3 separate regions of the Homo sapiens genome follow, and regions 1 and 2 are each linked to region 3. The links are contacts of gene promoters, found by promoter capture Hi-C in human tissues and cell types (Jung and others, 2019). All regions are on one chromosome and are shown on one strand. The core of a region is centred on a gene start or on the middle of the fragment in contact, and the rest is flanking DNA. Distances in the headings are between cores, read along the strand shown.

Region 1 (3,330 bases), core at 505-3,004, 570 kb before region 3:
TTTTAGAAAGTTCTATTTTTAGAAGTTATTTATTTCCTTTGAGCCTAAATCTATCTTTAAAACTTTATACATTAATTCCATTTCAGCCTTTGGAATACACAGAATCTAATCGCAGGATTAATTTTCAAATATTTGAAATTTTCATGTTCTCCAGCATAGTTTCCCATAAACTAAATAATCTTATACTTCAGCCATTTATTTTGTGACATATTTTTTCAGGAACTTTACCTACGTTTACTCTTAAAATCACCCCAATCTGTTATTTTTTTCTAAATATAATTCAACAGAACTGAATGCCATGTTTTAGTCAGTGTAACATCACATCCCTTTTTCGGGATATTCCACTTCTATTAGCGAAGCCTAACCTTGCATTTATTTGTTTGTTTTGGTTCTCAGGAGCAATATTATTATTTGGCTCATGCTGAATTTGTACGAAATTTTGTATTTTTGACAGCACATTCAATCAGTTGGACTTTCTTTGTATTCAAGAGATGTTATTGTGCTTTTCAAAATATAAGTTCAGATCTGGGGTTTTAATCAATTATTCGCTCACTCATTTCTCTATTCAATAAATGCCTACTATGTCTCAAGCACAGAACGTAAAAAGTTAAGCCAGAAAGATAGTGCATTCTTTACCTCATGAAGCATTTATATATGTTTCATCTGGTTAGGATCACGTCCTGATTCTAGCCCAGGAGTTCTCAACTAAGGGAGATTTTGCTCCCAGGAGACATTTGGCAATGTCGGGGAACATTTTTGATTATCAAAATAGAGCAGAGGGGAGGTGACATATGCCAGTAGCTTATCTCAGAAAATGTACCTCCTTGGCCGGGCGCGGTGGCTCACGCCTGTAATCCCAGCACTTTGGGAGGCCGAGGCGGGCGGATCACGAGGTCAGGAGATCGAGACCATCCCGGCTAAAACGGTGAAACCCTGTCTCTATTAAAAATACAAAAAATTGGCCGGGCGTAGTGGCGGGCGCCTGTAGTCCCAGCTACTTGGGAGGCTGAGGCAGGAGAATGGCGTGAACCCGGGAGGCGGAGCTTGCAGTGAGCCGAGATCCCGCCACTGCACTCCAGCCTGGGCGACAGAGCGAGACTCCGTCTCAAAAAAAAAAAAAGAAAATGTACCTCCTTATATTTTATCAGCAAATATAATGAACTTGTCTCCTATGTCTTTTCTCAAGTAGCTGATAAAAATGCTTACCAGAAAACCATAAGCACAAAACTGAATGACACACACTAGACAATTCATTCACCTGGTTGAGTTTTCTCCATTAATCAATACTCATAGGGCACTGCCTGCAATCAGACCCCAGTTTAGTATTGAAACAGAAGAGTTCCCTTATACCCTTTGCAGGTCCTGTGACAGGGGTGTGGCTGGCTCCTTTGGTCACCCTGCTGCTCTCAAACCCCTAGGGGGAGCATGCAGACAGGCAGGTGCAGAGGCCATAGGGATCGCTTTTGGGCTCCGTCCCCACAGCAATGTTTAGGGGTGGGTGTCTGTGACTCCTGAAGCCCAAGTAGGTGTGTGTTACGGTGTGCTCTTTCAGCTTTGCCATCTACAGACGGCTTGTGTTAATCAGCTCACTAGACCTTCTGCCTTATCGCAAGGGCAGAGGGCTAGTGCAACAGCTTTCTATATCCCAAGCTCTTGCCCAGTGTACCAGAAGAATCAGATCACATGTGGACTCAAAGGATGAGTGCAAGGTTTTATTGAGTGGTGGAGGTTGCTCTCAGTGAGATGGACGGGGAGGTGTAAAGCAGGGGATGGAGTGGGAAGGTGGTCTTCCCCTGGAGTCAGGCCGCCCAGCTACCAGGCTCTTCTCCGACTGCCTTTGGCTGAACTCCCCTCAGCCAGATGTCCTTCCTCTTCTCTCTTTCTCTGCTGTGTTGTTCTGTTGTTGCTGGTCTGCTGGTGTCTGCTGGTCTGTTCCTCTGCTCCTCTTGATATTCAGCCACTTGTGTCTGTGCCTCCTATGGTCTCATGTTTATATGAGCACAGGATGGGGGCATGGCGGGCCAGAGTGGTCTTGGAAAATGCAACATTTGGGCGTGAAAACAGGAGTGCCTGTTCTCACTTAGGTCCGTGGGCCCAGGCTTGAGGATTGAGCCTTTGCCAGGGACCCCACCCATCTCTACCCAGCACCTCCCTGCCCTGCTCCCGTGTCAGTATCATCATCATCCTGGCCACATTTCTTCCTCCTGTCAGTGACATCTTAAAAAGCTTTTTCAAACGTCTTCCTAAAATCAAGATAATGTGGAGTTTACCCTCTTAAAGAGCACCAATAATGAAATGTAGTTTGTATACACCATTCTCTTGTAGTGAGCTTGTAAGTTCCTAGTGACCACAGTGTTCTTTAGAAGTACCCTAAAGGTGTTTATTCCAGAATCTCCAATGGACTAATGCAGAATTTACTGATCTGGAAATATCTTTTATACATTCTGAAAATATTTAATCACTTTCCATATTTTGGTAAGTTTTCATTTCTCAAAGATTTCCACTGATTACTTACAGTATTTTTCCAGTGTTGGTTCCTGAACTGACATATATGCCTAGCTCTGTGCTTGGTTTTAGAAAAAGATAATTAATATAGGGTCTTTATTTCCACACCAGCTATGAAAGAGTTAACAACATTTTAACAACTAACAAAAGAGAATAATGACAAGTGTTGTAACATACATATAAATTAACAGTGGAAGTCCAGAGATAGAAAATTTTCTGAGACTATCAAGTAAAGTTCCCTAGAGAAGAAGATAGTCGAGTGGATCATTAAAAGAGGAGTGGATTTCTTTAGGTGCAGAAGTCTTTTTGCATTTCATGGATAACAAATGCCACAAACAAAATTAGAATGGCATGATGTTATAAGATATGTTTGGGAAGCATCAGACAATCCAATGTGGCTAGAGGATGTGGGCTGCAGAGATGGTGGGAAATGCAAATGTAGTTGTGACACATTCATGAATGGCCTTGATGGCAAGCCAAGGAGTTTGAGCATTATTCTGTAATGTGCCATTTCATTTGTGATTAGTAAAGGAGCAAGGCAATTAAAATTAAATTTACATGTAACTCCAATCTTCAAACCAACATTTCAAAGTCATTAGCCTCAATTTTATAGATATATAAGCCAGGATTCAGTGAGTGATGGACTGTTGTTTTTTTTTTGTTGTTGTTGTTGTTTTGGGAGAGGGGAGGGGGAAAGAGATTCACTCCTCTTGCCCAGGCTGGAGTGCAATGGCGCCATCTCAGCTCACCACAATTTCCACCTCCCAGGTTCAAGCGATTCTCCTGCCTCAGCTTTCCGAGTAGCTGGGATTACAAGCATGCACC
Region 2 (3,255 bases), core at 664-3,163, 610 kb before region 3:
GGGTGGATCATGAGATCAGGAGATCGAGACCATCCTGGCTAACACGGTGAAACCCCATCTCTACTAAAAATACAAAAACATTAGCTGGACGTGGTGGTGGGCGCCTGTAGTCCCAGCTACTTGGGAGGCAGAGGCAGGAGAATGGTGTGAACCCGGGAGGCGGAGCTTGCAGTGAGCCGAGATAGCGCCACTGCACTCCAGCCTGGGTGACAGAGTGAGACTCCGGCTCAAAAAAAAAAAAAAAAAAAAAGAAAAGAAATTGCATTGGTTTTGTAAAGTTTATTTATAAGGCTTTCAAGATATCATAACTTCCCTCTATTTTTGGACCTGTCTTTTGTTTAACAATCAGTAAAATACTTTTTCCTGAAATTAAATTGAGTGTGTCAATAATTTCTGTTTTATTCTTTTTCTTGGAAGATCAGAAACATATTTGCCTATCTTGGTAATTTGTCCTATTGTTCTATATTAATCAGAGTTTATAAAAATTTATGTAAGTATGTTCAGCAACTACACCTACCAATTCTCTCAGTAATTTGAGATGTAGATCTTTGGGCCAAAAACTTGAGTTAATTTCATTAGGTGTTCTGACCATTTATTTTACTACCTGGGGTTTTCTTTTTTTTCTTTTTCTTTTTTTTTTTTTTGAGACAGAGTCTCGCTCTGTAGCTCAGGCTGGAGTGCAGTGGCGCTGTCTCGGCTCACTGCAAGCTCCGCCTCCCAGGCTCATGCCATTCTCCTGCCTCAGCCTCCCGAGTAGCTGGGACTACAGGCGCCCGCCATGACGCCCAGCTAATTTTTTGTATTTTTTAGTAGAGACGGGGTTTCACCGTGTTAGCCAGGATGGTCTCGATCTCCTGACCTTGTGATCCGCCCACCTCGGCCTTGCAAAGTGCTGGGATTACAGGCGTGAGCCACCGCGCCCGGCCCTGGGGTTTTCTTTTACTCCTGCAAATGTTTGTTCCACTTTCCAGTCTTAAAATTATCACTGACAAAAAGCACAAAAGAAAGTCGTTTCATATTTTTTCCATTGTCTTTTGCCATCACATCATATTTCTGAACAAAGGGGCTACCTCTTTTTCATCAAGTGGTTCTAATATAGCTTCATAACACTCTTCAATATACCCACTCATTTAATTTCATTCTTGGAGCTAATATCTTAACATTATAAGTAAGAACTCTTTTTTCTCTTATAATTATTAAAGTATACAATTATTGAATATTTATATTCAAATTACTATCTTCACAATAAGACTAAAACATAAATTATATATAATTACATATATACATTATTTATTCTAAAGTAATTTACAACTTATATGTTGGGAACAGGCCCCAAAATCTGGCCATATACTGGTCCCAAAACTGGCCATAAACAAAATCTCTGCAGCACTGTGACACGCTCGTTATGGTCTCGACGCCCATGCTGGAAAGTTGTCCGTTTACCGGAAAGAGGGCAAGGAACACCTGGCGCACCCAGGGCGGAAAACTGCTTAAGCCATTCTTAAACCACAAAGAATAGCATGAGCTATCTGTGCCTTAAGGACATGTTTATGCTGCAGATAACTAGCCAGAGCCCATCCCTTTATTTTGGCCCATCCCTTTATTTCCCGTAAGGAATACTTTTAGTAAATCTTATGACTGGCTTGCTGTCAATAAGTATGTGGGTAAATCTCTGTTCAAGGCTCTCAGCTCTGAAGGCTGTGAGACCCCTGATTTCCCACTCCACACTCTGTATTTCTGTGTGTGTGTCTTTAATTCCTCTAGCGCTGCTGGGTTAGTGTCTCCACAACCGAGCTGGTCTTGGCAAGTGGTGCCCATACGTGGAGTCTCGAACCCAGGTCAAAGGGTCACTGGAGCGACGGTTGGAGAATGTGGAACTAAGCTGGAGGACACCTGAGTACTCATAAGCAATCCCTGTGGTGAGGGGAGCTTGGAAGCATCAGGGTAACAATGGGACAAGTGTGGGCTCTGGCTTGTTCTACGTTGGAACCTTTTCACACTAATAATAAAAGGAAGGAAAGTATAATGAAATAACAGAAGAGATGACAGAGCAGGTTTGTTTGCCAGCTAAAGCTAAAGCAGCAAAGGAGGAAGAGGTTCATCCCTACCCTTCTGCACCCCCTACTTATTTTGAAGAAAAAGAGTGGCCTGACCCTCCAGAGCTTTCTTTTCCGGAGGACACTGGGCTGTCTAAGCCATTTGAGCTCCTTGTGGGAGGGGTAGCAGCCAACACTGGGACTGATAGCTGCCTAAGATCCCAGGGTGGGGAAAGGGCGGCAGCCATCTCTTCAGCTTCAGGCCATGCTTTTCCCCTGCTGGAGCCAGGGAGGCTAGACAGATTGGTCCCAAGAGGTATCCCCACAGCCCAACACACTGGCTTTGGCAGACTGTGACCAGAGTGCCTCTTCAGGCCCAACCCTGACCCATCCCTCCTTACTGGGCAGGGCCTCCCTGCAGGAACTTCAACAACTCTAGCCAGGGACTCAGGGACAGAACTCTGATCTCCCTGGGTATGAGCCTCTAGGGGGAGGGGTGGCCATAATCTCCACAGACCAGCATAGTTAGTCTTTCCTCCTGCTAGTCTGAGGAATCTGGGCAGCCCAGATGAGTGGGTTTCCCCCCAGTGAAGCATACCCCCTCCACCAAGGGATAGTCAAAGTGCTTCATTAAATGAGTCCTGCTCCCATGCCACCCAACTAGGTGAGACCCTCCAACAGGGGTTGTCAGACACCCTATGTAGGAGCATTCCTACTGGCATTGGATCAGTGCCCCTTGAGGTCAGAGATCCCAGAGGAAGGAGCAGGCACCCATCTTTGCTGTTCTCCAGCCTCCTCGAGTGACATATCCACATGCAGGAGTGAACCAGAGGAATAGGACCTGAAGTGAACCCCCAGCAAACTGCAGTAGCCCTACAGAAGAGGGACGTGACTATTGAGAGAAAAACAAACAGAAAGCAGCAACAACAACATCAACAAAAAAAGTCCCCACCAAAACCCATCCAAGGGTCGGCAGCCTCAAAGATTGAAACTAGACAAACTCATGAAGATGAAAAAGAGTCAATGAAAAAAAAAATGCTGAAAACTCAAAAGGCCAGAGTGCCTCTATTCCAAATGATCGCAACACCTCTACAGCAAGGTGCAGAACTGGACAGAGAATGAGATGGATGAAATGACAGAAGTAGGCTTCAGAAGGTTGGTAATAACAAACTCCACTGAGTTAAAGGAGCATGTTCTAACCCAATGCAAAGAAACTAAG
Region 3 (3,143 bases), core at 275-2,774:
TCCTTCAGATATTCTGTTAAATATAATACATAGGGCAGGCTTATGTTAAAATCACTTGAGGCTTGTGACTTTCGACTAAATACTTCTTCAGTAATTACTGAAAAGTTCATCGGCTGGTGCTACCGGAGAAAAGACGTGGAAAGCTCACCATTTACTAACGACAGCCAGGGTGTGCCCCACTCAGGGGTGCCGGCCCTCTGTTCTCCCATCCCTGGGTGGGCCAGAGCATCTTACTCTCTGCTGCCTTGGGCCTCCACTTGGGCTGGGAAGATAAGAAAGTAGTGGACCTTCCCCTTCCTTCCCCAAGACTGGGAAAATCTTTCCAAATCTTATTCCCAGTCTTCCAGATGCGAGATTAGAATGTACAACAGATCCTCTCAAGAACACTGGGAGACCGAGGGTGGGAGAGAAAACTCCAAGGGGGGCGAGCTGACTATAGAGGGAATTGCCTGAGCGGGAAAGGAATCTTCCAAAGCCACAGAAAAGCCTTGGTTTGGAAGAAAGCCGTAGCACAGCTGCATTTCCAACGGGAAGGTCCTGAGCGCACACACTTCTGGGTCCTCCCCGCTCGGAGCAGGTAAACCTCAGAGTAGCTGACCGGCAGCACCCACAGAGTTTCCTCCCCACCACCCGCCTGGCGACCAACTGCAGCCGAAAAGAAAGAAAGAAAGGAAAGAAAGAAAGAAAGAAGAAGGAAGGAAGGAAGGAAGGAAGGAAGGAAGGAAGGAAGGAAAGAAAGAAAGAAAGACAAAGAAAGAGGAAGGAAGAAAGAAAGAAAAGAAAGAAAGAGAAAGAAAGAAAGAAAGAAAGAAAGAAAGAAAGAAAGAAAGAAAGAAAGAAAGAAAGAAAGAAAGAAAGAAAGAGAGAGAAAAAGAAAAAGGGAGAAAGGCAACAGAGGAGAAGGTCAGGAAAGCCGGGAACAAGTCAGCAGCCAGAAACTCTCCAGCGATCTGCCAAGGGGGAGAGGGTAGTTGCGCGCCGGCGCTGGGGATGGGGTGGGGGCGCTGGGGCACAAGGGCGCAGGGGCGCACGGCCACCGACAGCCGGGTGCGCCTAGCTTGAGGCCGCGGAGAGGAGCCGAACTGGGATGGGTGGGGGGTCTTCGGCCTCAACACTGCCTGCCAGCCCCAGTGCGCCCAAGTCTCCCCGCCAGAGCTGCCCTTCTGGAGGGGCTCTTCGCACGCACTGCTTTCCCCATTCTTCTGGCTGGAATTCTCCGGCCGTCACTGCAGTGTCCAGAGATGCTGCGCTGTAGACCCGGGACCCCTTAGGCGCCTCTTCCCGTCCCTCTGCCAAAGCGCAACGCCTGTACTTTTCCAGCTCCCTCTTTCCCTCTTGAAATTGAAAGTTATTGAGGTCGCTCAGGGTTGTTGCTCCAGCAGTTTCCTTCCCCGCCCCCGAGCTCCCCCCCGCCCCCCACAGCCATCCCCCCTCCTCTCCCCCTCCCTGCCCTCCTCTCCCTCCCCCCTCCCTGCCCTCCTCCTCCTCCTCCCCTATGTGGTGCTCCCGGGAGCCCAGCCCAACACTGGAGCGTCTCCTGCTCGCGCACGCCAGAAGCAGCTCGGGGTCTCTCCGCCGCCCCTTGGCCATGGCCGCTGTGCCGACGGCGCCCGCTCCCCTGCGCTCCAGGGGCCCCCGCCGCTGCAGCCGCAGCCGCCGCAGCTTCTGAGCCCAAGGGGCCGCCGCTGCAGCCGCCGCCGCCGCCGCTCGCCCGCCCGGATCCCGCCTGCGGCAGTTGCCGCACAACATGCTACCTGCGGCCGCCCCGGCGGCTCCTGGAACCCCGGTTCGCGGCGATGCCAGCCACCCCAGCGAAGCCGCCGCAGTTCAGTGCTTGGATAATTTGAAAGTACAATAGTTGGTTTCCCTGTCCACCCGCCCCACTTCGCTTGCCATCACAGCACGCCTATCGGATGTGAGAGGAGAAGTCCCGCTGCTCGGGCACTGTCTATATACGCCTAACACCTACATATATTTTAAAAACATTAAATATAATTAACAATCAAAAGAAAGAGGAGAAAGGAAGGGAAGCATTACTGGGTTACTATGCACTTGCGACTGATTTCTTGGCTTTTTATCATTTTGAACTTTATGGAATACATCGGCAGCCAAAACGCCTCCCGGGGAAGGCGCCAGCGAAGAAGTAAGTGCAGGGTTTTTTACGCGTTTGCTCCCTCCCGCCGCGTTCACCTGTCGGGTCGCTTTGCCTGTCCGGAGCCGGCTCCCAACTGCAGCGGTCCTCCCGCCCTGCGCCTCGCAGAGGAGATGCAGGTTCGGGCTTTGGGGGTATGGACGGCGTCTTTCACCCTTGCCTCTCGGCGCCCCTGCCTTCCGCAGCATCCTAGCCGGTGCGAGGGGCGGGCGGACGCGGCGCTAAGGTGGCTCCCGCCCCATGGTAACTTCAGGTTCGCGGGAAAGTTCGGTCCTGGGTTAGACTCGCACCCGGGATTTGTGCTTTCCTTTTGAGGATCGGACAGGGGCACCCAGCCGAAGGCACTTGGGACTCCCAGACGCAGGATGCCTCTGACCGCTGAGTAAATGACAAGGGAGGCGCGGCCGCGGTACCCGCTCACCTAGCGCAACCGCCTCGCGCGGGGAGACCTCGGCTGGGCCCTTAGGCTGGACTCCGGTAGCCGAACGCCCGCTACCCGGCCAGGAAGCCAGGGAGCGAGCGCCTGCGCGGCCGCATCCCCGACACGCACCAGCGGAGCCAAAGGGCGCGCGAGGCGATGGGGTTCGCGTGTCTGCGCGTTTGCAGAGCTGCCGGACGTCCCCCGCCCGAGGGTTGAAGACAGCAAAACCCCAGCTGTGGGGAGCCGGAGGTGCGGAGTTTCCAGGTTCTCTCTTGTCACATGTGAGCGTCTGTACCATCTCTGGCCCTTTCAAGTGTGTCCCCTGGGACACACACGTACAGAGAGTGGGGTCTCCCTAAAGATTCGCCTCCTCGCTGCCCTTAATGCTGTTATTTGGAGGGTTGGATTGTGATGGCTTCTTAAGACGGTGTCCTAGCTGGAATTAAGCGGACACCACCACGGCAGCCTCAACCTGGGTTGGTCTGTCTGAAAGGTAGAATCTTCCCAAGATGAAGGGACAGATGCGAAGGTGTCACCTCTCCTCGCTCCAGGGTAGCCTGGCGCCCTCGC

What was found. The method cuts DNA at HindIII sites, captures the fragments that hold promoters and counts their contacts. A contact is called where the count stands out against the background at its distance.
Region 1: a fragment that was not itself captured here is called in contact with the fragment with the promoter of RSPO3 in region 3 in 2 of the 25 tissues and cell types used here (H1 embryonic stem cells and thymus).
Region 2: a contact is called between a fragment that was not itself captured here and the fragment with the promoter of RSPO3 in region 3, in 2 of the 25 tissues and cell types used here (H1 embryonic stem cells and bladder).

The regions. Positions count from the first base shown.
Region 1 is chr6:126,549,112-126,552,441 of GRCh38, forward strand. No RefSeq gene overlaps it. Among named protein-coding and RNA genes, the nearest start is that of MIR588, 66 kb to the left of the region's middle. The HindIII fragment of the contact is 6,525 bases long and covers 1-3,330 here.
Region 2 is chr6:126,503,550-126,506,804 of GRCh38, forward strand. No RefSeq gene overlaps it. Among named protein-coding and RNA genes, the nearest start is that of MIR588, 21 kb to the left of the region's middle. The HindIII fragment of the contact is 5,823 bases long and covers 1-3,255 here.
Region 3 is chr6:127,117,147-127,120,289 of GRCh38, forward strand. RSPO3 (R-spondin 3) reads left to right here and starts at 1,525. Exons shown (of 5, transcript NM_032784.5): 1 at 1,525-2,143. The coding sequence starts at 2,047. LOC105377989 (a long non-coding RNA gene) reads right to left here. Exons shown (of 14, transcript XR_002956387.2): 4 at 1,755-3,143. The HindIII fragment of the contact is 6,946 bases long and covers 1-3,143 here.